3 separate regions of the Homo sapiens genome follow, and all the other regions are linked to region 2. The links are contacts of gene promoters, found by promoter capture Hi-C in blood cells and fetal thymus (Javierre and others, 2016). All regions are on one chromosome and are shown on one strand. The core of a region is centred on a gene start or on the middle of the fragment in contact, and the rest is flanking DNA. Distances in the headings are between cores, read along the strand shown. Region 1 holds the start of THOC5 (THO complex subunit 5). Region 2 holds the start of PRR14L (proline rich 14 like). Region 3 overlaps EWSR1 (EWS RNA binding protein 1).

The links. Contacts are between HindIII fragments. The CHiCAGO score rates a contact against its expected background, and 5 or more counts as called.
Region 1: a contact is called between a fragment that was not itself captured here and the fragment with the promoter of PRR14L in region 2, in 2 of 17 cell types (non-activated CD4 T cells and naive CD4 T cells). The highest score is 6.8, in non-activated CD4 T cells.
Region 3: a fragment that was not itself captured here is called in contact with the fragment with the promoter of PRR14L in region 2 in 1 of 17 cell types (non-activated CD4 T cells); the score reaches 6.5 in non-activated CD4 T cells.

What each region holds. Positions count from the first base shown.
Region 1 is chr22:29,551,962-29,554,661 of GRCh38, forward strand. THOC5 (THO complex subunit 5) reads right to left here and starts at 1,796. Exons shown (of 20, transcript NM_003678.5): 1 at 1,710-1,796. RefSeq lists enhancers at 1-618, 2,016-2,700, 2,097-2,166 and a silencer at 1,507-1,696. The HindIII fragment of the contact is 698 bases long and covers 1,067-1,764 here.
Region 2 is chr22:31,748,882-31,751,619 of GRCh38, forward strand. It overlaps PRR14L (proline rich 14 like), which reads right to left and starts at 1,251. Exons shown (of 9, transcript NM_173566.3): 1 at 1,112-1,251. RefSeq lists enhancers at 261-893, 1,133-1,692, 1,182-1,476. The HindIII fragment of the contact is 5,796 bases long and covers 211-2,738 here.
Region 3 is chr22:29,273,978-29,276,677 of GRCh38, forward strand. The region is part of intron 4 of EWSR1 (EWS RNA binding protein 1); the gene reads left to right. Among named protein-coding and RNA genes, the nearest start is that of EWSR1, 7.1 kb to the left of the region's middle. The HindIII fragment of the contact is 2,685 bases long and covers 1-2,628 here.

The DNA.
Region 1 (2,700 bases), core at 166-2,665, 2.2 Mb before region 2:
TTTTTGGTGGAGACGGGGTTTCGCTGTGTTGGCCAGGCTGGTCTCCAGCTCCTGACCGCGAGTGATCGGCCAGCCTCGGCCTCCCGAGGTGCCAGGATTGCAGACGGAGTCTCGTTCACTCAGTGCTCAATGGTGCCCAGGCTGGAGTGCAGTGGCGTGATCTCGGCTCGCTACAACCTCCACCTCCCAGCCGCCTGCCTTGGCCTCCCAAAGTGCCAAGATTGCAGCCTCTGCCCGGCCGCCACCCCGTCTGGGAAGTGAGGAGCGTCTCTGCCCGGCTGCCCATCATCTGGGATGTGAGGAGCCCCTCTGCCCGGCTGCCCAGTCTGGGAAGTGAGGAGCACCTCTTCCCGGACCCCATCCCGTCTAGGAAGTGAGGAGTGTCTCTGCCCGGCCGCCCATCATCTCAGATGTGGGGAGCACCTCTGCCCCGCCGCCCCGTCTGGGATGTGAGGAGCACCTCTGCCCGGCTGCGACCCCGTCTGGGAGGTGAGGAGCGTCTCTGCCCGGCTGCCCCGTCTGAGAGGTGAGGAGCCCCTCCACCCAGCAGCCGCCCCGTCCGGGAGGTGGGGGGCAGCCCCCGCCCGGCCAGCCGCCCCGTCCGGGGGGGAGGTGGGGGCCAGCCCCAGCCCGGCCAGCCGCCCCGTCGGGTCGGGGGTAGGGGGGCGCCTCCGCCTGGCCGCCACCCCGTCCGGGAGGTGGGGGGCGCCTCTGCCCGGCCGCCCCTTCTGGGAGGTGAGGAGCCCCTCTGCCTGGCCGCCACCCCGTCTGGGAGGTGTACCCAACAGCTCATTGAGAACGGGCCATGATGACGATGGCGGTTTTGTCTAGTAGAGAGGGGGGAAATGTGGGGAAAAGATAGAGAAATCGGATTGTTGCTGTGTCTGTGTGGAGAGAGGTGGACAAGGGAGACTCCATTTTGTTCTGTACTGAGAGAAATTCTTCTGCCTTGGGATGCTGTTGGTCTATAGCCTTACCCCCAACCCCGTGCTCTCTGAAACATGTGCTGTGTCCACTCAGGGTTAAATGGATTAAGGGCGGGGCAAGATGTGCTTTGTTAAACAGAAGCTTGAAGGCAGCATGCTCCTTAAGAGTCATCACCACTCCCTAATCTCAAGTACCCAGGGACACAAACACTGCGGAAGGCTGCAGGGTCCTCTGCCTAGGAAAACCAGAGACCTTTGTTCACTTGTTTATCTGCTGACCTTCCCTCCACTATTGTCCTATGACCCTGCCAAATCCCCTCTGCGAGAAACACCCAAGAATTATCAATAAATACTAAAACAAACAAACAAACAAATTTTTAATAAACGGTAGTAGAGGTGGTAAGTTGATCTGGCAAAGCCTACAAAGACCGGACCTGAAAGGCTTAAGTGTGGGAAATCCTGACTTTGGCAACACAGTAGAGTGCCTGGCACACCGAAGAGCACGATATATGTGAGCTGTTACCATCACCACCACCCCCACCCCCATCAGGCTACATTACCACAATCAAGAGGCTCCAACGTGAAGCCTGAGGATGCTGCAGCGAACACTTTTCGGATGAGGTAACAGCGCAGCGCCGAGAGGCCGGGGACCGCGGGTAGTGAGGGAGGAGAAGCCGGGTCAGACCCCAGCCCAGGGGCGCCCTTTGGGCGATCAGCACCTCAGTCCCGGAGCGCCCAGCCCCGCCCCATCTCCCAGCCCCACTGCCCTTGTCCCCTCCTCACCTCACAGCTCCAAGAACCTGGCACCGGGAGTAAGCCACTGCCGGAGGCGGAGCAAAGCTTGCCCGCGCACCATAGAGAACCGGAAGTAAGGAAGGGGCGGCCGACCGGAAGCGAGGCGTAGAGGCCGGAAGCTCAGCGCGGAGGCCCCCGAGGGAGGTGGTGGCGTGGTGAGACTGTAAAAACAAAGACACATGCTTCTCGTTCACTGTGCCCAGGGCCTAAGAGAGTGTCCAGCAGCTAGTGGGCGCTCCACCGAGTAGTTGAATTAATGTTGTGTTATGTCCAAGATAACACGAAAGAACCTGGTAGCGCGGCGGGGAAGATTTCGGCGCTAGAGGATTTGCCTGCATAACCTTACTTCTTAATTATTATTTTTACCATAATATGCCACGCCAGTGAAGGCAACAAGTCAGGGAGGGCATTAACCTCATTTTACACTTGGCTTTTTGAGGAGTGCATCACCAGTTTCTCCATTTTAGGCCTGACTTGCCCAGGACAGAGTCACAACTCTAACGCAGTATTTGAAAGCTTCAGGTATTTCCTACCCCTGGCATGAACTGTACAAACAAGGCCCAGGATTTTTTCGTGTAAATCCTCATCTGGAGCTAGTAACACGTGTCCTGAATCCCTGGTTGTACGGGGCCAGTTCCTTCTCCTTCCCAGGAGCAAGGAGGAAAATACTGGCTCTTTTTTATTTTTATTTTTATTTGAGACAGAGTTTTGCTCTCTCACCCAGGCTGAAGTGCAGTGGCGCAATCCCCGCTCACTGCAAACTCCGACTCCAGGGTTTAAAGGATTCTCCTGCCTCAGCCTCCTAAGTAGCTGGGATTACAGGCATGCACCACCATGCCCAGCTAATTTTTGTATTTTTAGTAGAGACAGGGTTTCACCATGTTGCCCAGGCTGGTCTTGAACTCCTGACCTCACTCAAGTGATCTGCCCACCTCGGACTTCCAAAATGCTGGGATTACAGGCGTGAGCCACTGCACCC
Region 2 (2,738 bases), core at 1-2,500:
GTATTGAACAGCAGGATCTAAGGGGACTGGAAGTGTCTCTTTCTCTAACCCCTAAGTGGGAGGGAGTCTTCCACTCCAGTGAGAAAGGATGGTTGAACACTTGTGATGGAGGCTGCGAGGGGCATGCATGGAAAAATATGCTTCTCTGTGCAAGATATTAGTTTTCTTTTTTAACAGATTAAGTAATAGTAATAGCAACAGCTTACCAAAAGCTTACTATATAACTAGTATTTACACAAATGCTCCCTTAGCCCGCATGACAATTCTAAGAAAACAGAACCCAAATTGGAGATGGACTGAGATTCAGACAAGTTAAACAAATAGTCAAGGTCACAAAGACGTTAAGTGAGAGACCCAGGTTTGCAACGATTACACTCCAAAAGCCATGCTCTTAATAATGCAAGGGAAAGGAGCTCACTGCACACCAAGAGGCTTAAAGGGAAGAAGAGAAGCGAGGGTCTCTCTGTGGACATCACGAGGGGAGAGGGAGAAAGGTTGATTTCTGATACCATAAAGTAAAATTTCAAGGTCTTCCTCTCCGTATCTTGGGGTACAGGCGAAAAATAAAGGAGGAAGGTAAGTCTCTTTCTTACTGGGAAGAAAGATCCCCTCTGTCACTTTCAGGCAAGTTGGGTCTCACTCTTCACCTGGGTGACGCTGACCAAAGTTGGGGGAAAGGTCTCATTTAGGGGTTATCTTTTACTCCTCCTCAGGATAAGTTCAGAATCCCCCTCGAACCCTGGGAGTGGGTCTCCCTCTGCTGACCAACGGATGAGCGCTAAGAAAGAGCGTACGCCTCCGATAAGGGGCGTCGTCCTCTCCGAGGAGATAAGTTGGGGGATCCCTGTTGTATCGAGGTTGAAGAGGAGTCTCTCTCCCGCGTCGGAGCCATGACTCGGAGAAGCCGCTTTTCTCTAGCGACGCGGGGCCTGGTCTCCTCCCTCTCCCTGGGTCGTTCCGCCGCCCACAGGGCAGCCTTGGTTCCTTTCCGCGCCCCGAGAGGGCGGGGGGCCTGGACTCCCCTTTAGCAGCACCACCCGGCGGAGGGTCCCTTTAGGGCGGAGTGGGGCGGGGCGGCTACGCCCGAAGCCTTCCAGTCCCGGCCTCTTACCCTGAGACCTCCTCCGCGGCCCGCGCTTGCCCAGCCAGCTCAGCCCCTGCAGCTGCAGCCCCGTCGTCGCCAGGTCTACCTGAGCCTACGGAGCCGACAGAGGCCGGGGGCGCTCCGGCCGCCGCCACCTCTTCGTCTCTATGGTCCCCCTGCACTTCCTCATCCGGGGCCCGAGCCAGCCATGCGGACTCGCCCAAATCCCGCCCCCGCACCGCGCGCGCGCACTCCAAGGGAAGGCTCTTCCTGATTCTGACCTCCCGCCCTCTGCTAGCCCCAGCCTCCCTCAACCCCGCCCCTGCGGCTCAAACTCTTAAAGGGAAACACAACTTTTGGTTCTGCTCCTGCTGAGCCACAGGACCCAGTGCCGGCCTTCGCTGCTGTCACCCTGTTCCAGTCCACCGTTTTTCTAGTCTGGACGGCTACAATTCTAAGGGCCTGCCTGCTTCCACTCTGGCAGCCCGAGAGATCTTATTCTACTGGAAAGAGTGTTTTGGGTCATGACACTCCTCTGCTTCTTCTAATCACACTGACCACTAAATAAATGGCACCTCTGCCTCCAGTTGGTTACAGAACCTTGTTTTATTTTCTTCATAGCTTTAACACTAGCTGAAATTTCTATGTCTCATCTCTTTATTGACTTGTTTATCATTTATCTTCCTCCACCTTGTCTGTTTTGTTCATCACTTAATGCTCAGCACCAAGAGCAGTGTCCGGCACAAAACTAGACGCTCAATGGACATTTGAAGGAAGGAAGAAATGTTTATCCAGTGGAAGAATTGAGGTCCAGATAATGAAATCGACTTGCCCCAAATAATACGGCTTTGTGTTAAAAAATAGAAATCGACCAGGCGCGGTGTCTCACGCCTGTAATCCAGCACTTTGGGAGGCGAAAGCGGGAGAAGCACTTCAGCCCAGAAGTTTGAGACCAGCCTGGGCAACATAGTGAGACATCGTTTCTGCCAAAAAACAAACAGCTGGGTCTGGTGATGTGTGCCTGTAATCCCAGCTACTCTGGAGGCTGAGGCAGGAAGATCACTTGAGGCTGGAAGGTTGAGGCTGCAGTGAGCAGTGATAGTGCCACTGCACTCCAGCCTGGATGACACAGCAAGACTCTTTCTCAAAACAAAACAAAAATTGCTCAGGTGTTGATGCACCTGTGCTCCTAGCTACTGGGGAGCCTGAAGCAGGAGGATCGTTTGAGCCCAGGAGTTTGAAGCTGCATTGAGCTATGATGGTGCCCCCACTGCACTCCAGCCTGGGCAACAAAACAAGACACTGTCTCAAAAAAAAAAAAAAAAAAAAAAATTGAATGCTTCAAAGTTTCGTTTCTTTCTTTCTTTTTTTTTTTTTTGAGACGGGGCCACGTTCTGACACCAGGCTGGAGTGCAGTGGTAGGATCTCGGCTCACTGCAACCTCTGCCTCCCAGGTTCAAGAGATTCTCCAGCCTCAGCCTCCTGAGTAGCTGGGATTACAGGCGCATGCTACCATGCCCAGCTAATTTTTGTATTTTTAGTAGAGACAGGGTTTCACCATGTTGGCCAGGCTGGTCTTGAACTCCTGACCTCGAGTGATCCGCCTGCCTCGGCCTCCCAAAGTGCTGGGATTACAGGCGTGAGCCACCACTCC
Region 3 (2,700 bases), core at 36-2,535, 2.5 Mb before region 2:
ATCCTTTATTCTTAGGAAGAGGTATTTTTTCTCTTTCTTCCCTACTCTTATAGTCTTGAGAGATCTCCAATAGAATGTGGGTGGGATAAATTCCAAGAGAGAAAAGAACTTTTAACTGTTTGAATAATCTCACGATGAAATGGAGACTATGTAAAAGATTTTGCTAATGCTAATACTGAGTAAGAATGAGTCTTCTTAAATTGAGCTGCTTAAAAATCAAACTGGTTTTCACATGTTTGCTTCATCTGATAGTGTACCCTCTACTTTTTGTTTTGTGCTTTCCACAGTAGAAGGGACCAGTACAGGTTTGACTATCCTGCTCATTCTTGCATGGGAAATGCTTTCCATCTTGTCTAACCCTGTAATGTTAATCCTTTAGGTGTTTTCATTTGTTGAACCCCCAAACTTTCTAACATCACACACAGCAAGGTGCTAATGAAAAACTGCTTCAGGTGCCATTTGCAGATCCATGTCCTATTCTTTATATGATTTTGGGAAAGGTTTTTTTATTTAATATTACTTTGTTTCAAGCCTTAATAATAGTTATTTACCTTCCCAAAGGTATTTCAGGTGATTTCTCCCCAGCTGATTTTCCCCTGTTCCCTGAAGGATAGATTGCATGATGAGATTTATTTAGAGGAGCAGACTGCCACCCTGCATGTATCATGTTTGTCTATTGGTTGGTTTCTAGTCCAGACACATTTTATTTTCTGTTTTAAGTGTTATGAATTATTTTAATCCATGGTATGTCTTGAATATATATAACATTATTCCAAGATACTAAAAAATAAACTATTCTAAGAATTAGAAGAAATTGTATTCCGATACTGAGGTTGGGTGGGATACATGAAAAACCTATGATAATTTTTTTGTGTTCAGTGCTGTGTAATGTTTCAGGCTGTCTCCCCCTGCCCTTTTATTATTGCTGTTATAAAAGACTCTAATAAAGTCTTAAAGATATCAGAGCTCTTATTTTCAAACTGTCTTTAGTTCTCCAAATTATATATAGTCCAGTTAAGGGGAAAAACCTGTCTGTAATTTATCTCATTGAGTACCAGTGTCCTGATTTTGATGGGAAGTAATTCCTAACCTCTTCTAGGGTGTTTCTCAAATAGGATGGGAAATGTTTATCTAAACTTTCTAGTGGTGTTAATTGCAGCTGTGGGAAGAGCTGGAACTAAGGTTATGCAGTTTGGATTTTTTAGCATAGAATTTTGAAATTGTGAGATAAACTTCATGTATTAAAGCCATTACATTTTTTAAAACAAGCATGATGTGAAAGTTAATGTGGCCTAGATCTAGCCTTCCGAATCCTTAGATCATTTTACAGGAATGAGACGGAGTGATTTATAGGCAAATTAATGGTTCTCTAGAGCCATGTATCACATTGTCGTTGGTTGAGAAATCCCCATCATGACTGTGGGCCTAAAAAGTACAGGTCATTCTAGTTTAGAGACTAGTAGCTTTGATGAGCTGGAGATTGCACTTAGTAATAATAATGTTTGTATAAAATTCACAGTTTATAGAGTGGCCTTCTTGTCTCCCTTAATCCTCCCAAGAACTTTTGGGGTATAAAAACACCAAAATTAAGCCTGATGAGCAAACTGTGTGAACAAAACTTAGCAGGAGCCTAATTGGTAGTGCGTGGGTTCAAGCACACATGCTGCATTTTTCCTTACCTCATACTGCCTTTACACATGAAAGTTATCGGATAGTCATTGGAGGGAATACATAGAAATACACTGTTCTCTTCTAGGATTTTTAAAAATTAAACTTCAGAAGAAAGGGGTTATATAAACCTCAATTCAATGGAATTCTTAAAAACTTCTTAATTTTTACGTTGAACAAAAGTTTTGGTTTGTGTAATATTTCTTACCACCTTTTTCCTTCAAGTTGTCAGCACATAGTAGGTGTGTTTTCTTTTTTTGCCACTGGTCTTTTGTTTTTTTGTTTTTTTGTTTTTTTTTTGGTCATTAAATCATTTTGCTCTGTTGATTTTTGTTCATTTTGCTTGGCTGCTTTTGTGGGTACTACAGATTAATTAAAAGGTTATTTATTAACCCAGTGTCTATTGCTGTAATCTTTAGCATGACAAGGCCCTAACTGTTGCTGCATAGTTTTATGACATGAGTTATTGCCCTGATCACTTTTAGTTTTTTGTTTTTTTAATTGCCCTCCTTGTAAATCTTATAGACGTGTCATGTAGTGGGGTGTAATCGGTATATGAACGGTAGGGTAGATGGTATTAGATTCTAATTTAAATAAATGAATGCCTTATGTGGTTGACCTTAGGACTCTGCAAAAACTTAAGCAGTTCAGATGAACAACATGCCAACTCAAAAACTTTTATTGCTTGGGGCTTCCTGTTTTCTGGAACTATGTATACTTTCATACACATTTTAACTCAGCAGTTTTGACAAGGACATTACTATCTCTGTGTATAATTTCAGAATTTCCTTTTAATATTTGAGGTAGAGAAGAAAGAGTATTATTATATTCTGTGCTACAAATGGTGATTGTACAAAAGGAAGCTGATACTTGTTTCTGGCCAGTACATGAGGACACTTTAAGGCCCTAAATCTTAACTAAAATGGGCAGTCTTGATTCAGGATTTATTTTAAATATGGAAGCTTTTTCTTTAGTGAGATGTAGACTTTTTTTTTGGATATAAATGCCAGCACCTAGACCAAAGTTTTGTTT